4 separate regions of the Homo sapiens genome follow, and regions 2, 3 and 4 are each linked to region 1. The links are contacts of gene promoters, found by promoter capture Hi-C in blood cells and fetal thymus (Javierre and others, 2016). All regions are on one chromosome and are shown on one strand. The core of a region is centred on a gene start or on the middle of the fragment in contact, and the rest is flanking DNA. Distances in the headings are between cores, read along the strand shown. Region 1 holds the start of PLXNA2 (plexin A2). Region 2 holds the start of CD46 (CD46 molecule). Region 3 overlaps CD34 (CD34 molecule). Region 4 has its middle 15 kb from the start of LINC02767.

Region 1 (5,025 bases), core at 710-3,209:
CTGTGGGTTCTTCCAAACTGATGGGCCCCCAAGTGACTGCCTCAAGCTATGACTGGCAGTCCCAGTCCCCTCAAACTGATGCTGCCTTCATGTCCCTTGTGCACTTTCTACTGGTGTGCCACTGTCACTCTAAGATTCCTACAGGGGACCTGTTCAGATTTCCATTGCCCACTTCATGGGGCTCTCATTTCTAGACCCTTACTGACCTAGAGCCCCAAATCTTTTATCCAACTTCCTCCCCACCATTATTTCTATCCCTCCTGAGCAGAGCTGAGTTTGAGTAGGTAGCTCCCACTAGGGCAAGGGTCATTCCAAACAGGTGGACTTTTTTCGGGGATCTAAAATGGTAGTTTCTGGTGACTCTCTGGGCATCTAGACCATGATTGGCATTATAGAGACTACCTGTGGGATGGATAAAAAGGGCTAGAATTTTCTAGGATCCCTACCTCACTTGTGGGGTGGGGCAAGAAAGAGCACATGGAAGGAAACATTCTCAAATGGTTCATAAGGAGCCTCTGGGACCCTAAGCAAACTCCCATTTCAACCCCCAGCACTCCTGTGGTGCTCAAACTAAGGGGCTGGACCCCTGCTGGGCGATACACCGCAAAGGGAGCCCCGGGAGATGAAACACTTAGACCCATTCAGTGCCTAGGAATCTCTCCCTGAGCCTTATGGAACCCGCGCAAATGATGTTTTCCCATTCCCCTGATCTCCAGTCCCCGATCGGAAGGGAGAGCCGGCGGCCACCAGGGACCCCGGCACTGGAGTGAACGCCCCCAAATCGATCGCTGGCCAGTGTGGCTTTGGGCTGTCTCGCTGGTGCCACCGAGGCCCTCTTTGGGCTCCAGCTCTCAGGACAGCCTTGCCGCCCCGAGCTCCCCAAAGCCGCAGAGCGCCGGCAGGTGCGCGGTGGAGGCGCGCCGCGGAGCGCTGCTGCCGCCCTCAGCCCGCATTCGGGAAGCCGGCGGGCTGCCGGCCGGGAAGCCCTCGGCGGGAGGCAGCGGCTCCAGTGAGCCTGCGATCGCGCGCACGCCGCGCTCCAGCCCGCGAAAGTGGCCGAGCCCACGCGGGGACTCGCCCGCCGCGGCCAAGCCGGGTCTTCTGGGGCCGGGACCCCAAAGAGGCGGGCGCGGGAGAAGCCGCCACGGGTGTGCGCGCCTGTGGGGAGAGGGCGGAGGGCGCTGCCGACTCCGAGCGCCCGGCCCAGCCGCCGCTTACCCAGCTCGGCGACGTCGGTCTGTCCTTCCGTCCCCGCTCGGTCTACCTCGGCCGCCGCCGGCTGCTGAGGGCGGCGCGAGGCCCCTCTCCCTGCCCGCAGCTCGGAATCAGGGAGACGACCAAATCCACATGGAGTCCAAATTCATTAAAATCCACGTCAAGCCACCAGACACTTATCTGTATTCCTGAAGTCGCTCCTCGGTCTCCGCTCCGCGCGCCCCTCAGTCCTCCGTCGCCCCGCAGCAGCCCGGCTGGGCGCTGTCGCCGGCTCTCAGGGGGCACCCGGAGGCGCCGAGGGGGCGTGTGGGGGCGGCCGGCGGTGTCTCTCCTGAGGAAGAAGCAGAGCCCCGGCTGTCTTCAGATTTTTCCAGCGCGACTTTCCGGGCTCCTCTGACATCAGCAATCCCGGCGCTTCCTTCCCTTCTTGCTCTCCGGTTCGTTCACAGTCCCATTTCCTCCGGGAGCCTGGCTTTCCAGATCTATTTCGAGGTTTGCTCCGCTGGCTGCGGCGCTCGCACGCCCTACCGCTCCCAAGCTCTCGGGGTCTCTCTCCGGATCGCTCGCCCTCTCGGCTGAAAAATTCCCAGCAACTGCCCTCCGCCGCCCTCCCGCTCCAGTCTGGCGCGGATGCCGCTCCTCCCGGCAGCTCTGGCTCCCGCGGTGGCGGCGGCGGCGGCGGCGGCGGCGGCGGCGGAGGAGCCCTGAGCGCCGGCCTCCCTATTTCACCATGCAGCTCATTATCATAGAGGCCGCGCGCGTTAACCCCCTCCCCGCCGGCCGCGTCCGCCCGGGCTGGGGCCGCGCCCGCTGCTGGCACCGCCCGCCACCGCCAGCACCCTGCCCCCTCCCCCGCCCGCGCGGACTTCCTCCTCCGCAAGCTGTCAACAAAGGAGAAGCAGGTTTGGCATCCGGAGGCCGCTCGGCTGCCTGTCCTGCGCCCAGCTCAGCCCGGACCCATCGGCCACCTTAAGTAGCCAAGGGGGCAAGGAAAATGCTGCCAGGGCCCGGGAATTCGAGTCGGGCCTTGCGAGCCCAGCTGGCTTGGCCCCCGGGGGAATAGAAGGTCTAGCGTTGGGGTTAGGGGGGAGCTCAGAACACAGGAAGAGTGGGTGAGGGCAGTAGGGACAGGGAATCCCCCCCATTCGCATCACCTGTCACCGCACACATCCTGCACACCTCCCTCTTCATCTGTAATTTGAGTGAGGGGTGAGTGGGGAGGAACGGGGCTTGTCTGGTAGGGTTGAGACTAGAGTCTTGGAATTTGTGGGAGCAAATTTCCTCTTCTTGTAAATTAAAAAAAGAAAAAGGCCAACAAGCTGTCAAATAAGGCTTGAAGTTGTTGTTATTATTATTATTGCAATGAGAAGATGAACCTTGCTCTGAATTGAATCTCAAACTTCCAGCCCTGATAGGGATCCTGGGCATCTGGTAAGTCCCGACTTGCATGGGGGCATTGGGGACGGGAGAAGAGCTTTCTATATCCAATTCAGAGAATCTTTCTGGCAGGGTAATCAGAGGGGTGGCAATAAGATAACTTATTTTAATAACCTAAGGTGAGAGGTTTCGGGATTCTGGATGACAATGTCTCGGTGCCCTCAAGGCCACTGATTCCTCGCCACACAGTCTCAGTAACTCCGCAGCCTCTAGACACGGCTTTCCGGAAGCGGCCTGCAAGCTGGACCCCAGCGAGTTCGCAGGATCTGCGTAGTCCCTGCTCGCGATTAGAGCGCACACGAGTTTACTCCTGTCCAAGTATTCTGATAAGCTTCCTCTACTGCCCTCTCGTGGCCACAGTCCTCAGTGGTATAAATCTAAAAAACAACAAAAATCACTGCGAATACCTAAAAGCAATTGCACCAAATTCTTAGAGCAGTAGCGGCAGAAGAAACGAAGGGAGGGAAGGATGAAGAAAGGGAGCCGGAGAAAAGAGAGAGAGAGAGGAAGAAGAAAAGGAAATCTAGACTAACCAGTCATCTCGAACAATCGCACATTCAACACAGGACTGGGGGATCTAGGCTTTACTCCAACATCTGCAGAAATCAGCGAATTCTTCAAAAGTTCTTCATTGTAATTAGCTGAAATTTGTGTTCCTGTAACTTTCACTGGCTACTGCTAGTTTTGTCCTGTGGGACCACAAAGAATCTGTCTAAGCTGTGTTGCCTGATCCATACCTGTTCTTTCCTTCAAACTTCTTTAGCATTCATTGTTGGTAACACACCAATAAATTATCATATTTACCCTGTGTTATTATTTATTTATTTTTATAAGTAGATCTTGTCTCCCCATGCAGACAGACTAGTCGATCGTTTTATCTCTGGGTAGACTGAATCTAAACCACAATTTATTAAAAAAGATGATTTGAAGAAGATGCTAGAAGATTTTGGAACACTTCCTCCATTTGTTCATGGAGTTTGGCCAGCTACACCTAAGACCAGCCGTGGTAGGATTGGAGATATCTAATTGATAAAGCTCCAAGCTGAAAATTAGGGCCCTCTGGTTCTAAATCAAGTGGTGTCTGACTCTGGAAGAGGTCACCTCTCTTCCCTATGCCTCAATTTAATCACACCTTGGGAAGATTATGATACAATTGAAATAATTTTCTCATATGCCACCCTCCACTCCTGTGGTCCAGAAATAAATCTTAGAATGAAGAGCAAGGAAGCATAAAATGAAACAGACTCTTCCACTCACCCCATCTTTTATCCCCACACCTCCCCTCTCTTTCCTGAATAAAGGGAGAGAAAGAGGGAACACAGGCGGGAGGACACATTGTGGCTGACAGGGTGGCACGACGCCATCCAGATTCCACATTGCCACTGAACAGGGTCTAAGATCTGAGTCCTGTGAGACTATGGAAGAGCCTGTGGTCAGCATAGCAATGGAAAGAGCGCTAACTTGATCTACTGGGAGGTACAGTGGATGAAGTACCTCTAACTTCTCTAGGCCACAGTTTGTCCATCTGTAAGATGGGAATTTCTGTCTTCACTCTCCAGACAACTGGGGGAATTAAAATAGATATATGTAAGCGTGTTGGAAGAAGTAATAGTATCATCAAAATGGAAAGATTGTTGTTATATTTAGTCCTAATAGGCTAGAACAAATATGGATCTTATTAGCTAAACATCTAATTACCATAACATGCTCTGAGAATTTAAAAAAAAACCAAAACCTTGGGTTCATGGTTCGTATTTAGATTTGACATCCTCTGAGGCAACAGCGGTATACCTGAACCTCTAGTCTTTACATCTGCTCGTTAACCTTCTCCCTTTGATCTGGGTATTCATTCATTTATTACGCAAATATTTATGAAGAGCAAATTTACTAAATTTCTTCCTTTAATGGAACTATATACAGTCCATAATTACTGCTTTGGCACATATTTTTAAAGAAAGCATGGCAATAACCCTACAGATTCTATAACCTCAGATCTATCTCTTTCTGAGGTTTCTGGTTTTCTTGTATGTTTCTGCCCTTCACTATATTCTTCCTCATTCTGTCCATCTGATATCAGGCCCACAGCCCCTTGGGACTGACCAGTCCTCTGTCAGGGCCTTGTAGTTCGTCCTCATTTCCATCTGGAAGGATAGATGTAGTGCAACATATTTGTGAGCAGGCTGTCGATATTTAACAAATATTTATCAAATGAATGAACAAATGAATGAATGGGGAAATGTTTATCTTATGCCAAATCCTCATCATTGGAAAATCATAGCACACTCAACAGGGTTCTCCACTCACCCCAACCTACCTACCTTCCCTAGTCAAGATATTCCTGGAACCTCACCTTGAAAGTCATTTGTCACTTCT
Region 2 (5,025 bases), core at 1,298-3,797, 490 kb before region 1:
ATCAAAATCTCTCAGAACTTTGTGGGCATTTGGTAAATTCATGCTGGGGGAGAACTGGCAGAGACATGTTAAATGCACTTGACCACAAGAACCATTTATTTCATCCAATATTTACCAGTTATTCATTGTACACCTACTATAGATTTTGGCACTGTAGATATGAGAAAATGCTATCCCTGACTCACGAAACTTATCCAAAAAGTAGAGAACAAGGCTCAGCCATTCAAATAAAGCCTCAGTTGAATCAAATAAAAATAAGTTTTAAATATTTAATGTGAAAGTCTTCGAGTATGTTAAGAATGGCTTAACTCAGGGATAGAAATTTTACTGATTGAAAGAAAATTTCAACAAAATACCAATCTTTGAATCTAATTTGACACCCGAAACTAGGCAATCAAACATTAGCACTATTTTTTCTTCTATAGTTTATAATAAAATTTCTCATGAGAAAAAAAGACATTTTTCTTCCAAGCCTGAAAATGGATGGAGAATTTTTAATATTTATTGTTGCTGAGAACAGTAAATAGACTATCCACTTTCACAAATGAAGGCTGGCTTTGAGCCACAGAACATATCTGTTATATCACTCTTTGACACCATATATTAACAGAAATAATAATTTTCCCGCATTGAGTTTCCTATTTACCATCTCTTTAATTATACCCGCTTTAATTGCTGTCATGGAGTGTTGAATTTTATAATCCAAGATACTAAGATGTTTATCTGATATACCACCTCCACACTTAATGTCTTATAATCTCTGCCAAGAATTTAAAAATTTTTGTTGGTCGGACAGGAAGAGGAAATTCCATGGTTTGGTGAACCCAGAAATTGTTCAGTACATCTCGGTTATAAAACTGTGTTAAATACACTTAAACTCTATAATTCTATAAGACCCATTTTAGGTTTATACACTGAGCATCCAGTTCCTCACCGTCCTCTCATAGGTTAACCCTGTGTAATACAAGTTCTGCTCCCATAATTCTATGAACAAAACAGCCCTTGATATATAGGTTTGATTTTTTAAATACATTTTCTTTACTTTATTCTAAATGTAACATAAGGTCAACATAGAAAACTGAAAAGCATAAGGAAAGTGAAATATCTGTAATCTTATCAACCATTGTTAATTTTGCTGTATTCCTAGTTTCTTTTTATACATATCAATATGGTACTTTTGTTTTAATAAAAGGACTGCCAAAAGGCACATGCCAGTTTGGACTCTGCTTTTTCCACTTACAATGATATCATAGTTTCTCATATTTGGTATTCTTTTGCAATATTTGCTGCATAGAATTCCATCACACAAAGGTAACTGCCAGAAATTCTTTATTACTTTTGCTAGACACTTAGGGTTTACATTTTTTCAAAAATTAATCACATCAGAGTTTTGATCACATCAGAGCTTTGATCACAGCTCTGATGATTTCTCTGGGAACTGAGAGCCTAACACAAGTCATGTCCACTTTAAGACTTTTAACATACTGAAAAGTTATGTTACAGAGTGCTGGTCCCCCTGCAACACGTTCACTCACATTGGCTGACGTTTTAATTCTTTGCCAATCTGAGGGGAAGAAATGTCAACTCTTTGTTTGCTCTTTTAATGTCAGTCATGTCCTTTTCCTTTTACCGGTCATTCCGGTTTACTCACAATCCTACAAATCAATCCTGCTCATTCTTAATTTTCCAGTATTGTTCCTCAGATTGTTTCACCAGAAAAGTTCTCCCCCTTATCCACTCTTCACCTAACAATTTCTACCCATCCGAATCCTTCTGCATTTATTGCTTCCAGGAATTTGGCACTTAGGACACCCTTGTCCTTACATTGTTCATGCATGTATATTTCGTCTTCAATAAAAAATTTAGTTGCTCAAGGGCAAGGGCCCCATAGAGTCTCAATATTCTAATTGCCTGGTGTTGCTTAATAAATTAGATTCGGAAGGGTCCCCTCCAGGGAGGGGAGCAAAGGGCAAATTACCTTAGGGGCTGGGAGTGCAGAAGCCAAACCTTTGAGATTGTGAAAACAAGACGGCCCCGAGACGATCCAGTAGCAGGCATTCAAGCAAGAAAAACTCAAATATTGTTCCCAATAATGCCTGACTAATGCCAAATACCAAGTAAGGGCCCAGGCAGTCCTGACAGCCTGCAGTGCCCCAGGATAAAACTAACCCTGAGGGGTGCTAGCCCACGGTGACCCCCTGTCTAGACTCTGGATCTCTATTTTTAGGTCGAAGTGCTTTATTCTTGACTCCCGAATTCCCGGAAACTATTACCAAAGCAGCTTAGTTTTCTCTCCACCCTGCCTGGGTCACAAATATGACGGCGAGCCAGTCCTTTCCCGCAGGACGCCTCAGGCTTCCGGGATGGTAGGCCAAGGGCTTAGCAAGAAAAAAGGCGGCCTCGGGGAACCTGTTCTGTTAGGTTCCGCCAGGGCCTCCCCCTGACCTCTCGAAGGCCAAGGGCTGCCCATGAACGCCGAGGCTCCGCCCCGCGGCCCGCCGATTGGCCCCAGCCGCCCTGGTGACTCGACGCACTTCCGCCCCGGGCGCGGCTCGGGCCACGCCCACCTGTCCTGCAGCACTGGATGCTTTGTGAGTTGGGGATTGTTGCGTCCCATATCTGGACCCAGAAGGGACTTCCCTGCTCGGCTGGCTCTCGGTTTCTCTGCTTTCCTCCGGAGAAATAACAGCGTCTTCCGCGCCGCGCATGGAGCCTCCCGGCCGCCGCGAGTGTCCCTTTCCTTCCTGGCGCTTTCCTGGGTTGCTTCTGGCGGCCATGGTGTTGCTGCTGTACTCCTTCTCCGGTAGGACCCCGGGGCGGGTTCGCGCGTCCGCGGCGAGACTAGAGCTCTCCTCAGTCGGGCAAGAGTCGCGGGGCGGGGCTCACAGCAGGCCGTGCCTGTTTGGGGACAGGGTTCTCTGAGGGGTGCAGTGCTCAGATCCCGGGGGTATGTGGCGGGGAATGCGGGGACCACGCAGAGCCCGAGGTGAAGCTTGTTTGGTGGCGTCGTGTGCGCGGCCAGCATTTACGCAGGATCTGGCTGCGTCCCTAAAAAAAGCGTGAATCGTGTTTTCGGGATTGAGCCAGTCGGCCAGGGGAGCGCGGACTGGGCGCCCTAGGTGAGGGCTTGTTCTGGAGTGCACAGGTGCGTGGGAGTGTTGCTAGGGCCCGTGCTGTGTCCGTGGTGAGAGTTTGCCCTGTGTTCCCTTGGTGCCTTGGTGAGTGGGGTGTTCATTAGGGCTTGGACAGTACCCGCGGTAAGGGTTGCAGTGCGTCTGCTGTGCCCCATGTGCTGGGCTGGGCGAGCAGGGGCCTGGCCAGGTGTTGCTGGGAGCGTGCTGTGCGTAAGTGGCCTGTGTGCAGAGTTCACTGTGGGCAAGACAGCTCAACTGTTTGCTTTGAATGGAGTGAGCGCGGACTCTGGGGCTAGGGAGGGCATGTTGAGTGAGAGCAGGCTCTCGGTGCCTGGGGTTAGAGAGGTGGTAAGGGCGCGCCATGCTTTTTGTGCCTTCTGTGAACAGTCTCCGTGTTACCTGAGCTCCTATTAGTTTGTAAATGGCTGCTTTTTTGGGGGGTGGGTGGGCCATCGAGTCTTCTTCCTGTTCCCAACCAATATAGATAGTATCTGATTCCATTGCCTAATGGCTTTTTGACATTGTTTTCCTTCTTTTCATTACTTTGAGTCATATTTGAGAGATGTGAAACAACCTAAAAAACAATGGTAGCCAAACCTAGTGAGAAATTAGTATCCTAACAAAGGAAGGCAGATAATGTTAATCTTGTTTTCCCCTGCAGCTCATAAGCTAAAGCTTAAGGCCTATCCCACTAAATTTATTTTGTATTTCATTGAATGGAATCAATACTTTTAAAAATGCATGCTAGGCCAGGCGCAGTGGCTCACGCCTGTGATCCCAGCGCTTTGGGAGGCCCAGGCGGGGTGATTGCCTGTGCCCAGGAGTTCAAGATCAACCTGGGCAACATGGCAAAACCTTGTCTCTACAAAAAAATACAAAAATTAGCTGGGCATGGTGGTTTATGCCCGTGGTCCCAGCTACTCTGGGGGCCGAGGTAGGAGATTCACTTGAGCCCAGGAGGTGAAGGCTGCAGTGAGCTGTGATCATGCCACTGCACTCCAGCCTAGATGACAGAGTGAGACCCTGTCAAAACAAAACAAACAAACAAAAAAAAAACCCGCTAAGAAATACATGCTTATTGTGCGATACGAACAGAATCAAAAGACAGCTATTTTTAATATTTTGGCATATTTGTTTCTGCCTTCATGTGCGCGTCATGTGTATCTATGTCCAAATTATATTTAGGATCCAATAACATGTATAGTTTCTACGTTGCATTTTTTTCCTTAGGAGCATTCATTCAACGAATATGGGTCTTGTATGTCTGGTGCTATTACACTGGTAGGCAATAACAAACCATTCCTATTTTCTTGATCCTTTTTTCACTATTTGTTTACACACACATTCATGCAGGAAGATAAGCAGGGACTTTGTTTTGCTCAATGATAAGTGCTCAGTGCCGGGAACACAGTAGATAACCAATAAATTATTTGCTAAAATGTATTGGGATTGGCAGACATTAAAATCCAAAACATAATAGTGACAAATAAATTATGAACCAAGGGAAGTGCTCTGGAGGCAAGCAGTATAATTTTCAGATATAAATCTGACAGCATTTAACAAATGATTGGAGAGAGGGAAGGCTTCTCTGCTCATCAAACAGACTTTGGGGCATCTGTGCTTGCTGTTCCCTCAGCCCAGGAACATTCTCCTCCTGACCTGCTGCAGAAACAGTCTCGCTCTTCTGCAAACTCAGCTGGAATGTTACACCCTCAGAGACCTTCTCTGATCACCCCACCTCGCGACCCCCCCATCTCAGGTTGAACACATACAACCCAGTTCAAGTCCCTCTTCACTTGTAATCACCCTTTTAAAATGACCTTTTCTGTTCTTTGTCTCACCCTGTCAGAATGCAGGGATCCTGTCTGTCTTGTCGCACTTGTGGTTCCAA
Region 3 (5,025 bases), core at 2,451-4,950, 360 kb before region 1:
GCAGTAGGACCTCAATAAGGCCAGCAGGTGGCGCCATTGCTGTACCAGGACGCTCAGGCCCACGGTGGGAAAGTTGGATTTTTCCAGAAAGCAGGCAAATTCTTCAGGGCAAGCTGTCCAGCTGTCAGAGGGAACCAGCTGCCCCACCCCACCCCGCAATACACACACAGCCCTTCCTCCCAAAGCATACATACACATTCCAGCAAACTCAGGGTGAGATGCATTGCAGGTTGCTAGGCCTGAAGCTGGAGGTGCATCCAAGTTGCCTTTTCCTCTCCTCCCATATTTCCTAGGAATCTGAACCCTGAACCCACCCCTCCTACTTGATGTCCTAGCTGGGACAGACCCTCACTGGATTACTCTCAAGGCAAGATGTGCAACTAGATGCAAGTGGGCTGGACTTCCCTACTGATTACCATCGTCTTTTGCTCATCATCCTTTGCTCCAACCCTCAAGGCAGCCATCGCCTTTGAGGGAAGACTCTGAACCTCATCATTTCGCCTCCCCTCTGTCCTAGGGAAGAACCTATGATTAGAGGAGTTGGAGAAAAGCAAGAAGGAGATGGGGGTGGAGGAGTGCTGAAGGGAAAGGTCTGGCTTTATGGAGATAAGAATGGAAGAATCAACCTTTGTTTGGCCCCAACTGCCTCTGCCACTGTCGACACACTTGGGAGTGTTTCCTGGAGCTCCTCAGCACTCCCTCCCCAACTTCCTATGGCCTGGTAGGGGTGGGGTGGGGGTTGTTTTGGAAGCTGGGGGGAGGTACATGCTTACAGATTTTTTTTTTAATTAGGCTGCTGTCTTAATCTTGAGGGTGGAAACCAGCCCCCTCCCTGAGTTGGCTGCCAGGTCTCTAGAACAACAGTCCCCACATAGTCCTTCACTGTGTCTACTCTGACCTGGGGGGCTGGGGAGGGGGGTGGCCTGATAATAAAGGGTGCACAGGACATTGCCCCTTCCCTTTGTTTTGCATATTTTGCAGCAGTGATCAGCATGCTCCTCTTCTCAGAAGGGTGTTCATGAAGGGTACAGCTCCTAAGAACCCAACATACCACCCTCCATTTGGAAGCTCCCTGGTACATTCGGGTCTGCCTTTCTACCACTGGAAATGGATGTTTCCTCTCCCCATGGAGGAGAATAGTTGGCAGACTTGGCTAAAGGTCCTTAGCATCCTGGCTGGTGCCTGTGTCTGCTGAGGTGCTCCCTCTTCCCTGGCTGGTCCTCCCCACCACATCACTGCACAGTCTAGCTAGGTCTAATGGAGGGTGTCACTCTTGCATGCAGACACACCCAGCTAAGACAGAGTCACATAACAGATGTGTTTCAGTATCACTTTAATTGCAGTATTTAAACACATCACTTTGTATTCAGAAAAAATATCTACCCAATACTCTCTTCTCTGGAAATTTCTATTTCCAACCGTCATTGAAACCAGGATCCCTGCTCAACCCCTCTGGAAAGAAATCAACAGCAAACAAGGACCTGGGTCACCCACAGAAGAGGCAGCTGGTGATAAGGGTTAGGAGCTGATCTGGGCTATGACCATATGGGGGTGCAGAGCAAGGAAGGGGCTCAGGGTGAGGGAGGCAGAGACAGAAAAGCATCTGTTGGGGGACTGAGGCAACAGCTCAACCCAGGAGTCGGCAGGAGGGAGGAGGAAGCCATGGAGATCAGAGGATAAGGCTAGGATCCAGCCTCAGAGGAAGAGGATTTTTCGGAAGAGTACAGGTGAGAGGCTCAGCTCCAAGACCTGGTCCCATGGTCCTGCCTACTTTGATCCAGAGGGAGAAAAAGGAGCCCAAAAAGAGTTTCTGTGTGGCCCCAGAGAGACTAGAACTGAGCTGTTTGTCCTAAAACTTGGGAGGCCTGTTCTAGGCTCCAGCCAGAAAACTGTGCAGGACTCTGCAAATGGTAGAGGGGGCACATGGAGCTCAGTGGAACTTAGAGAACAAGGGAGGAGCTGGTGACCAAGTCCACAGTGTCTTGGAGGAGAGATGAGGGAAGTGGTTCAAGGCAACACGTTTTTCTGGCTATATCATTACAAGAGAGCAGGTGCAAAAGGTTACTTTGGTTTCCTCAAAGTAGAGAAAGAAAATACAGGGAAGAAACGGTAAAAATCAAAGCTTCCTGGGAGAAAATTGTAGCCTAGAAAAGCTCATCTTTCCCCTGGGGGTTCCTGTATTGCGGCAGAGAGGAGGGGGTAGGGGAAGGGGGTCCTGTGTGAGTGCTGCAAGGCCATCGATTGTTCCTGGGAGCTTCTCCAGACCTTGGCTTTCCCCCGTCACACGTTTACCCAAAGAAGACCAGAGTCTGGCTCCAGGGAGCCGAATGTGTAAAGGACAGGAGTTTACCTGCCCCTCCTCAAGGTGTAGGGCCCCAAGAACAGCCTCTGAGGTGTGTGCAGTGGGGAAGGGTTGGGCGTAAGAGATGTCACCTCCAGCATGGGGGTAGCACGTGGTCAGATGCAGAGAGGGGTGCTCTCTCGGACACTGCCCAGCCTTGCCCCACCTAGCCGAGTCACAATTCGGTATCAGCCACCACGTGTTGTCTTGCTGAATGGCCGTTTCTGGAGGTGGCCTGGCCGGTCCCGTTTTCCTGAGCCCCTCGGTTCACACTGGCCTTTCCCTGAGCCTCAGGGGAGGTCCCAGGTCCTGAGCTATAGCCCTGGCCTCCACCGTTTTCCGTGTAATAAGGGTCTTCGCCCTAGACAGTGTATAAATAAAGTAGCATTATCTGGTAAGCAGGGCTGTGAGACACTGGATGGGAGAGGGGCCCAAACAGGAAGTGGGGGCAGGGGTGGGAGAAGGGGGAGGGGGAGGTGGGAGGAAGGATCGGAGGGAGGGTGCAGCTGCATGTGCAGACTCCTTTCTTCCTGAAGAGTGGTCAGGGTTCCAGCTCCTAGAGGAGAAAGGACATAGGAGAGGCACCACACCATGCCACCGCAGCTCGGCAGCCAGCTCCCGCAGGAAAACGGGCAGTTCCAAGAAGGGTGGGATGACCTCCCCAGGGTAGGGGACAGGCCAGAGGCCAAGATTCAGACCTCAGCCTTGTCCTCCCTCATCCAGAATGGCAAATGGGGATTCTCCTTCCGTATACCTCCTTTTGAGCAAGGGGGCACCCACTGGGCATTTAACACGGTTGCAAATACAGTGTGGCTGATTAAACAGCCTGTTCTGGTGGCCCCAAGCTGAACTATCCCAGAAAACATAATGAATAGATGACACGAATCATCTGCTACCACACCGAGTAGGTGGGCTGGCACCATTACTGTCCCCTCCCCAGTTTGCTACATAATATTTTGAATCTTCCACCGATTACTGTGTGTGCACACATGCATATCTTTATGTAAGCTCACAGAAGGGCTTTTTCTAGTATTTCTCCTCCTGCTCCATGACATCCACTGAACTCCCCAGAAACCCACTATCTTCCTCATTTCCTTTACCCTGGCCCCCAGAACTGACCAGCCTTTCTCCTGTGGGGCTCCAGCTGCGGCGATTCATCAGGAAATAGCCAGTGATGCCCAAGACAGCCAGCAGGGCTCCCGAGGTGACCAGTGCAATCAGGGTCTTTTGGGAATAGCTCTGGTGGCTTGCAACATCTTGCTCAGTGAAATCTAGGATCCCCAGCTTGAAAAGAAGACAAAGAAGATACAGCCTGTCACTTGCCAAAAGTGGAGCCCAGCCCGCTCCAGCCCTCTGTGTGTGACTCAACAGTGAACAGATGCTTGAGGGCATTGACCTCAGGAATTTTTGAAATGGGATTTGAGACTGACGTCTCTTAATTCAGTCATACCCCACCATTTTTGGTTCAAGACTAGAAAGGAGAAGACTCAGAGAAGGATGGTAGGTAGAACTGGGGAAGATAATGACTTCCCCCCTTACTCCAGGGAGCCCCCCTGCCCCGGCATTCCCTCTCAGGCCCATCATCTCAGAGGACTTACCTTTTTCAGGTCAGATTGGTGCTTTTTCATAAGTTGGAGTTTGCTGGAAATTTCTAGAATTAGAAACAAGGGTTGCTAAATCTAAAGAGAAACCAGCTTATCCTGCTCCACCCTCCCATGCTGTTCTAGAAGATGCTCTGATGGCCAGGGTGGTCCATCTCGGGGGGACCGCTCCCAAAGCCAGCCAAGTCCTTCTCCCCAGCACCTGTGGTCTCTCTGGATCTAAGATGCCCCATCTCCACCCAGGATTCTCTAACCTCAGCCCTACTCCTTCCCTGTTCCCCCAGGCAGAGGTGCACCTTACCTGTTCTGTTGGCCAAGACCAGCAGTAGACACTGAGGCCTCACCTCAGACTGGGCAAGGAGCAGGGAGCATACCTGGGCCCCAGCATCAGCATCAGCCTGCTCCTCCCCACACAGCACTCGGGCCAGGCCCTCTCCCCTGTCCTTCTTAAACTCCGCCTGGGAAGACAGAGAAACATGGAGAGCAAGAGATGAAATTACTGCTCTGCCCTAAACTGCACCCAGAGTCTCTGATTACAGTCATACTCTTACCCCGTCCGCAAGAAGGATCCTTGTTTCTAAAATTCCAACAGAAAAAAAAAAAACTGCTAACTGTATATGTGCAACAACACAATAAGAAAAAAACCTAAATAATCTCCCAGGACCAAAATCCATATCTTCTAGTATCTAAGATGTTAGAGAACAAACTTAAAAAAATTGTCTCGTTGAAGCATTGCCCATGTACACATATGCAAATTAAACTCAAAAGAAATGGCCAAAAACAGAAAATATTAATAATGCAATAATAACTAAGAGAAAATATTCTGTTTCAAGATTACAGCAGTCCCCAATGATGGAAGAAAAGCCAAGGGAGGTGAGGAGGAGAGAACAAATCTATAATATACACTCAGTGGAAACCTCAGTGGCCTCCTCCCTCTTTCTACCCAAAGGAGTCTCAAAAAGTGCATTGCTCAAACTGAAATGGCATTTTTGTCTCGTCTTCCATCTCTGTTTTCCATTAAAAGCATGGAACCCAGTTTTAATGAAGTTCATAGATTTTTCTTCAGGTTGCTGACTGGGCCAT
Region 4 (5,025 bases), core at 918-3,417, 270 kb before region 1:
CCATTACTCACGAACGTGCCGCACACCCCTACTCCCCCAAACCCACCTCCCTCTCCCCTTTTCTCCCTTTCTCTGGTTATTGTAATTATTTGGGAATTTACAGAATAATCTGTCACCAAGTCCTCCAGAACAAATTGAATGTCAGGTTTATAAAACAACCTAATAAAGCAGATGGCATCACCCGCTGGTAAATCTCTTCCCCGTTTCCTGCCCCACCCCCTCCCCACTTCAGTGTCTCAGAAGGCTGACAGATTATCCATTTACAGCCAGATTAATCCTGAACAGTATAAACATGGGGAGAAAATTACACTTTCTTGTCTCCATAATTGATAAGAAGGATACATTAATCTATAAAGCCCGGAGGAAAGGCCCATCTGTTTGCCCAGACAATCGTGGGGATGTCTGGGAAAGAAGGAGACCCGTCCATCTCTCTGTCTGTCTGTCTGTCTGCCTTTTTGTCAGAAACCACTTTTTCAGAAGCTGCCCTCCCCTTCCCTGGCCCCAGAAACTGGGCACCTGTAACCTTAGACAGTCCCCTGGCCCTGCGTGGGAGGTAGCAAGGTTCAAGGACCCACATCTCAGGATTCCAGGCCAGGGACAGAGACTCTGCCTCTCTCCAGCTTTCATCTTCTTTCCAGAAGTTATGTCCATTGCAGAGATGTCCACAAGCCCAGCTCTGTGGTGTTTCTAAGCTTGCCTTTGGTTTCCTCAGACCAGCCCTTGAGGAGATTCCAAGCAAAATTTGTTCAGTAAGATTCTCATTCAATTCCCTGCCTGCTCTCTCCTATTGCTTTATAACTTTTTGCAGATTTACACACTTCCTTCCCTGTTCCCCCCCTCTTCCAGCACCTTCTCTGTTAGTGGCAGCTGCGAGGCATTAATTGTCTCCTTGAGGCCTGTCAGAGCTGTCAGGAAATGTCCCAAGGGCCGATTTCTGCCAGTGGAGGGATGCGGTGGAGCCAGGGTTTCTGGTAGACTCTGCTCAAGAATTGACGGTCCCCTCCCAGCTCAGAGGTGATACTGAAAGGGACACATAAACATTGCCCCACTCCCTCTCTGTTTGGAGGATTTCCTAAGGCTCGTCCAGTCACTGTGCTTGGGATGGCTTGAGGAGGAGATGAAGGGAGCATGGCAGGTGGGTGGATTTATCTAGAGTGGGAGAGAGAGCCAGGGAAAGTCCTGAAAGGTCCCAGCTGGCCAGAAGAACCTCATTCGCCAGAAGGATCTCAATGAGATAAATAGAAAATTAAAATGAAGATGGGGGAGGAAGACAGGCAGAGCAGACCTCCGGAAAATGCCGAGGGGCCAGAAAAAAGGGATATTGAGAGATGGAATAAAAGAAATACAGAAGTCTATGGCAAGAGCTCGCAGTTCCTGTCTCCAGCATGGATGGGCATGTTTTGGGGTTTGGGGATCTCTGCTCCCTTAGTCTCTACTGTGTTATTTCCTCCGGAGGAGAGAGGGGGTGCTGCCTCCAAAGTGAGGCACATTCCTGACGCACTCCCTATTTTGTGTGGAGGTGCACTGAGTGCCCAGGGTCTGAGTAAATAGCAGGAATCTCACAGGTGGGTTGTGTTTTACCAAACGCTTCACACCCACCCCCCAGACTGCAGACTACCTTTGGTTAGGCTTTTCCAAAGAGGTGGACTGTGGGAGGAAATGCTGTGGACTGAAGTGTGGGCTCCCAGGGCCACTTGTCTCTGCGGGAATTGGTGGACACAGGAGGACTTCCGACAAATGTTCCAGTCTTTGTCTTGCAACTCCCAGCTCTTTGTACCAATGGTGCACGCTACTCCCGGCTGAAGTTTGAGGATGACGCTAACCAGGTTGTCCAGACTGGACTGTAGCTCTTAGAGCACTGATGGTGCTTGGGCTGTTCTTTGGGTTCCAGAGTTGAACAAAGTTAAACAGTGCTTCTTCCCCTGACTTACTTTTTGGTATTCTTTGCTTTCCATCTCTTCTCTACTTTGGCTAATTTTTCTCCACTTCTTTCTGTTTTTTTTTCCCTCTTGCTCTCTACATTCTACAACTTTGATTGTGGGTTTGATACAATCTCAACGAAATTGTAAATACTAACTCATTTTGGTTTCATGCTTTTCTTTTTAAAATAAATGATTAAGTTCTACATATGTGTATATTTTAAATTGACAATTGTAATTTTAAAGGAGAAAAAGATTAGTGACTCTGATTCCAGGGTTCTATAAACTTGGATGTAATATTCCATTTTCATTTACTAATTTTAATAAAAATTATTACAACATGAATTGTAAAGTAATAATATGTAAATTATCTAGAGAAACCAACAAAGCACTCAATTTTAGCCCCTAAATGTAGTAATTAATTCTGGATGATCATCTAAGGTTTGGAGGGTGAATTTTAATAGGTGTACGTTTGGGTAATAAAATGAAATTTTACTATTATTTGAGAGTCTCAAACTGCTTCAATCAATTAACTTGTTCTGTCTAAAGAGGCAGCTTTTGTGCTGTTTTAACAGTGAAAGCTGAGTTTCTTGGTTCTATCACTTCATTTTCATAGAGCCACAACCAGCATTAGCCTCCCACATGCTGTCCAAAGAGCAGGTTGCTGGGTTTTTTTTGTTTGTTTGTTTATTTAAATTGAAAAGCCTTGTGTTAGACATCCTCAAAAGATACAAGGAAAGTGAGAAATGCTACTTTTGTCCTTAAAAAGACAAGGCAGAGTTAGAAAATGTGCCTGTCCCAAAGATGTCATTAAGAACGTTACAAAACAAAACCAGCTGTTAAAAAAAAAAAAAAGTGACGTGACGTGCGAGAGAATTGGAGAATGGGGAACTGGGTTTTGTATTTGTCATATCTCACAGTTTTTCTCACATTGTCCCCTGTGCCTAGACTGCCTGTCCCATACTCTATGTCTCATACATTCCTGGCATCCCTTCCCCTTCCCCTCCTTGGTAGAAGTGACTGCTCCTCCTTTGGGTGGTCACTGTGTCTGCTCCATGCTTCTATTAACATCTTCTTGCATTTTAATATTATTCCATGTTTGTAAATTTAAGATTCAAGAAGCTCAGTAAACCACAAACAGGATAAACTCAAGGAAAACTTCACCTAATCTCATAGTCAAAATGGTGAAAATCAAAGCAAAGAAAGACTCTTTAAAGCTGCTAGAGGAAAAGCTACACATTACATATACACAGGTTCTGAGGGCTGCAGGTTTCTTCTTGTCCCATGAAGGTCAGAAGATGGGATCAACATCTCTAAAGTACTAAAAGAAGGAACTGTCAACTCAGGATTCTACATCCAGCAGAAATATCCTGCAGGTGTGAAGTCAAAATAGAGCTACTCTCAGATGCAGCAAAAGTGAGATAATTTATTACCAGAATACATTTTCTGTAATAAATGATAAAGGAAATTCATCAGAGGCTAAAAGATAATGATAACAAAAGAAAGTTGGATTTTAGGGAATGAAGGAAGAGCAACAGAAGTGGTAAATATCTGGGTAAATATAAGAGACTTTTTAAAAAAGTTTTAAAAAACACCTAGGACCATTGGAAGCAAAACTTATAACATAAGCTGGTGGAGTTTTTAATGTGTGAGGATATAGTCAAATGACAATTATAACATAGAAGTCATTTGAAGGGAATATTAAAGGACTTTTATGTGGTTGCAAAGCTTCTATATTTTACTTGAATGTGAAAATATATATATATAGTAATCTCTAAAGCAACCACTAAAAAATAATACAAACAGATTTAGCCACAATGCTAATGATAAATTTAAAAAGACTACTAAAAATTATCTAAGTAACCCAAAAGAAGGCTGAAAAAGGGGCATATAGGAAAGAAACTAGAGGGAGGCTGGGCACAGTTGTTCATGCCTATAATCCGAGGACTTTGGTAGGCCAAGGCAGGAGGATCACTTGAGCCCAGGAGTTTGAGACCAGCTTGGCCAACATAGCAAGACTCCATCTCTACAAAAAATTAAGAAAAAAAAATTAGCCAGGCATGATGGCATGTGCTTGTAGTCCCAGCTACTCAGGAGGCTGAGGGGGGATCACTTGAGCTCAGGAGTTTGAGGCTATAGTGATCTATGATGGTGACACTGCACTTCAGTCCAGATGACAGAGCAAGACACTGTCTCAAAAACAGAAAAACAAATAAAAAAAGAAGAGACAAATGGAAATCAAAGAGTAAAGTGGTAGAACTAAATCCAACAATATGAATAAGTACATTAAATGCTGATGATCTAAACCCTTCAATTAAAAGTCCAGGATTGACAGAGTGAATAAAAAGGCAAGTTGTTATTATATGCTGCCGTCAAATGACACATTTCAAATGCAAAGGCACAGATAGGTTTAAAGTAAATATATACCATGCAAATAATAAGCATAAGAAGCCTAGAATGGCTATTTTTAAATCAGCTAAAATAGATTTCAAGACAAAGAGTATCACTAGAGATAAAGAGGGACATTTCATAATGATAAAAGGGACAGTTCATCCAGAAGACATAGCAATTATAAATGTATATGAACCTAGTAACAGAACCATTCCAATCCTGGAAATAAAAACAATAAAAAGGAATGAACCTTGATACATAACCGAGATGAATCTGAAATCATTATATTTAGTAAAAAAAAAAAAGCCAGGCAAAAAATAGCACATACCATATAATTTCATTTATATAAAATTCTGGAAAATACACACTAATTTATAGTGACAGAAAGTAGATTAGTGGTTGCTTACAAATGGAGGTAGAGGCAGGCATGGATGTTGAAGAACACAAATAAGTTTTTGGAAGTGATGGAAATGTTTGTTGTCTTTATCATGGCAATTTTTTTGAATGTAAAATGGTCAAAACTCAACAAACTACATTTAAATATGGAGTTTAGTGTACTTCAGTTATAACTCAGTAAGATTGGAGAAAAATAAATGCCTAAAAAAAGTAATGAGTACTTACTAAACACTTCTAACTTCAATCTAATACTACAGGAGTTTTCCTCTTCTTTTTCCTTTCCTTATTTGTATCTTGTTCTTCCACAATGATTCTCTCC

What was found. Contacts are between HindIII fragments. The CHiCAGO score rates a contact against its expected background, and 5 or more counts as called.
Region 2: the fragment with the promoter of CD46 here is called in contact with the fragment with the promoter of PLXNA2 in region 1 in 1 of 17 cell types (fetal thymus); the score reaches 6.8 in fetal thymus.
Region 3: a contact is called between a fragment that was not itself captured here and the fragment with the promoter of PLXNA2 in region 1, in 1 of 17 cell types (fetal thymus). The highest score is 6.2, in fetal thymus.
Region 4: a fragment that was not itself captured here is called in contact with the fragment with the promoter of PLXNA2 in region 1 in 2 of 17 cell types (monocytes and naive B cells); the score reaches 6.0 in monocytes.

The regions. Positions count from the first base shown.
Region 1 is chr1:208,242,425-208,247,449 of GRCh38, forward strand. It overlaps PLXNA2 (plexin A2), which reads right to left and starts at 1,960. Exons shown (of 32, transcript NM_025179.4): 1 at 1,219-1,960. RefSeq lists enhancers at 498-999, 1,000-1,499 and a silencer at 2,018-2,077. The HindIII fragment of the contact is 7,265 bases long and covers 1-2,981 here.
Region 2 is chr1:207,749,507-207,754,531 of GRCh38, forward strand. It overlaps CD46 (CD46 molecule), which reads left to right and starts at 2,548. Exons shown (of 13, transcript NM_172351.3): 1 at 2,548-2,803. The coding sequence starts at 2,707. RefSeq lists silencers at 2,389-2,498, 3,078-3,435 and an enhancer at 2,599-2,808. The HindIII fragment of the contact is 3,093 bases long and covers 1-2,990 here.
Region 3 is chr1:207,885,222-207,890,246 of GRCh38, forward strand. CD34 (CD34 molecule) reads right to left here. Exons shown (of 8, transcript NM_001025109.2): 5 at 4,244-4,400; 6 at 3,940-3,992; 7 at 3,461-3,625; 8 at 1-2,702. The coding sequence ends at 2,517. Among named protein-coding and RNA genes, the nearest start is that of CD34, 23 kb to the right of the region's middle. The HindIII fragment of the contact is 3,160 bases long and covers 2,121-5,025 here.
Region 4 is chr1:207,971,527-207,976,551 of GRCh38, forward strand. No RefSeq gene overlaps it. Among named protein-coding and RNA genes, the nearest start is that of LINC02767, 15 kb to the left of the region's middle. The HindIII fragment of the contact is 2,955 bases long and covers 691-3,645 here.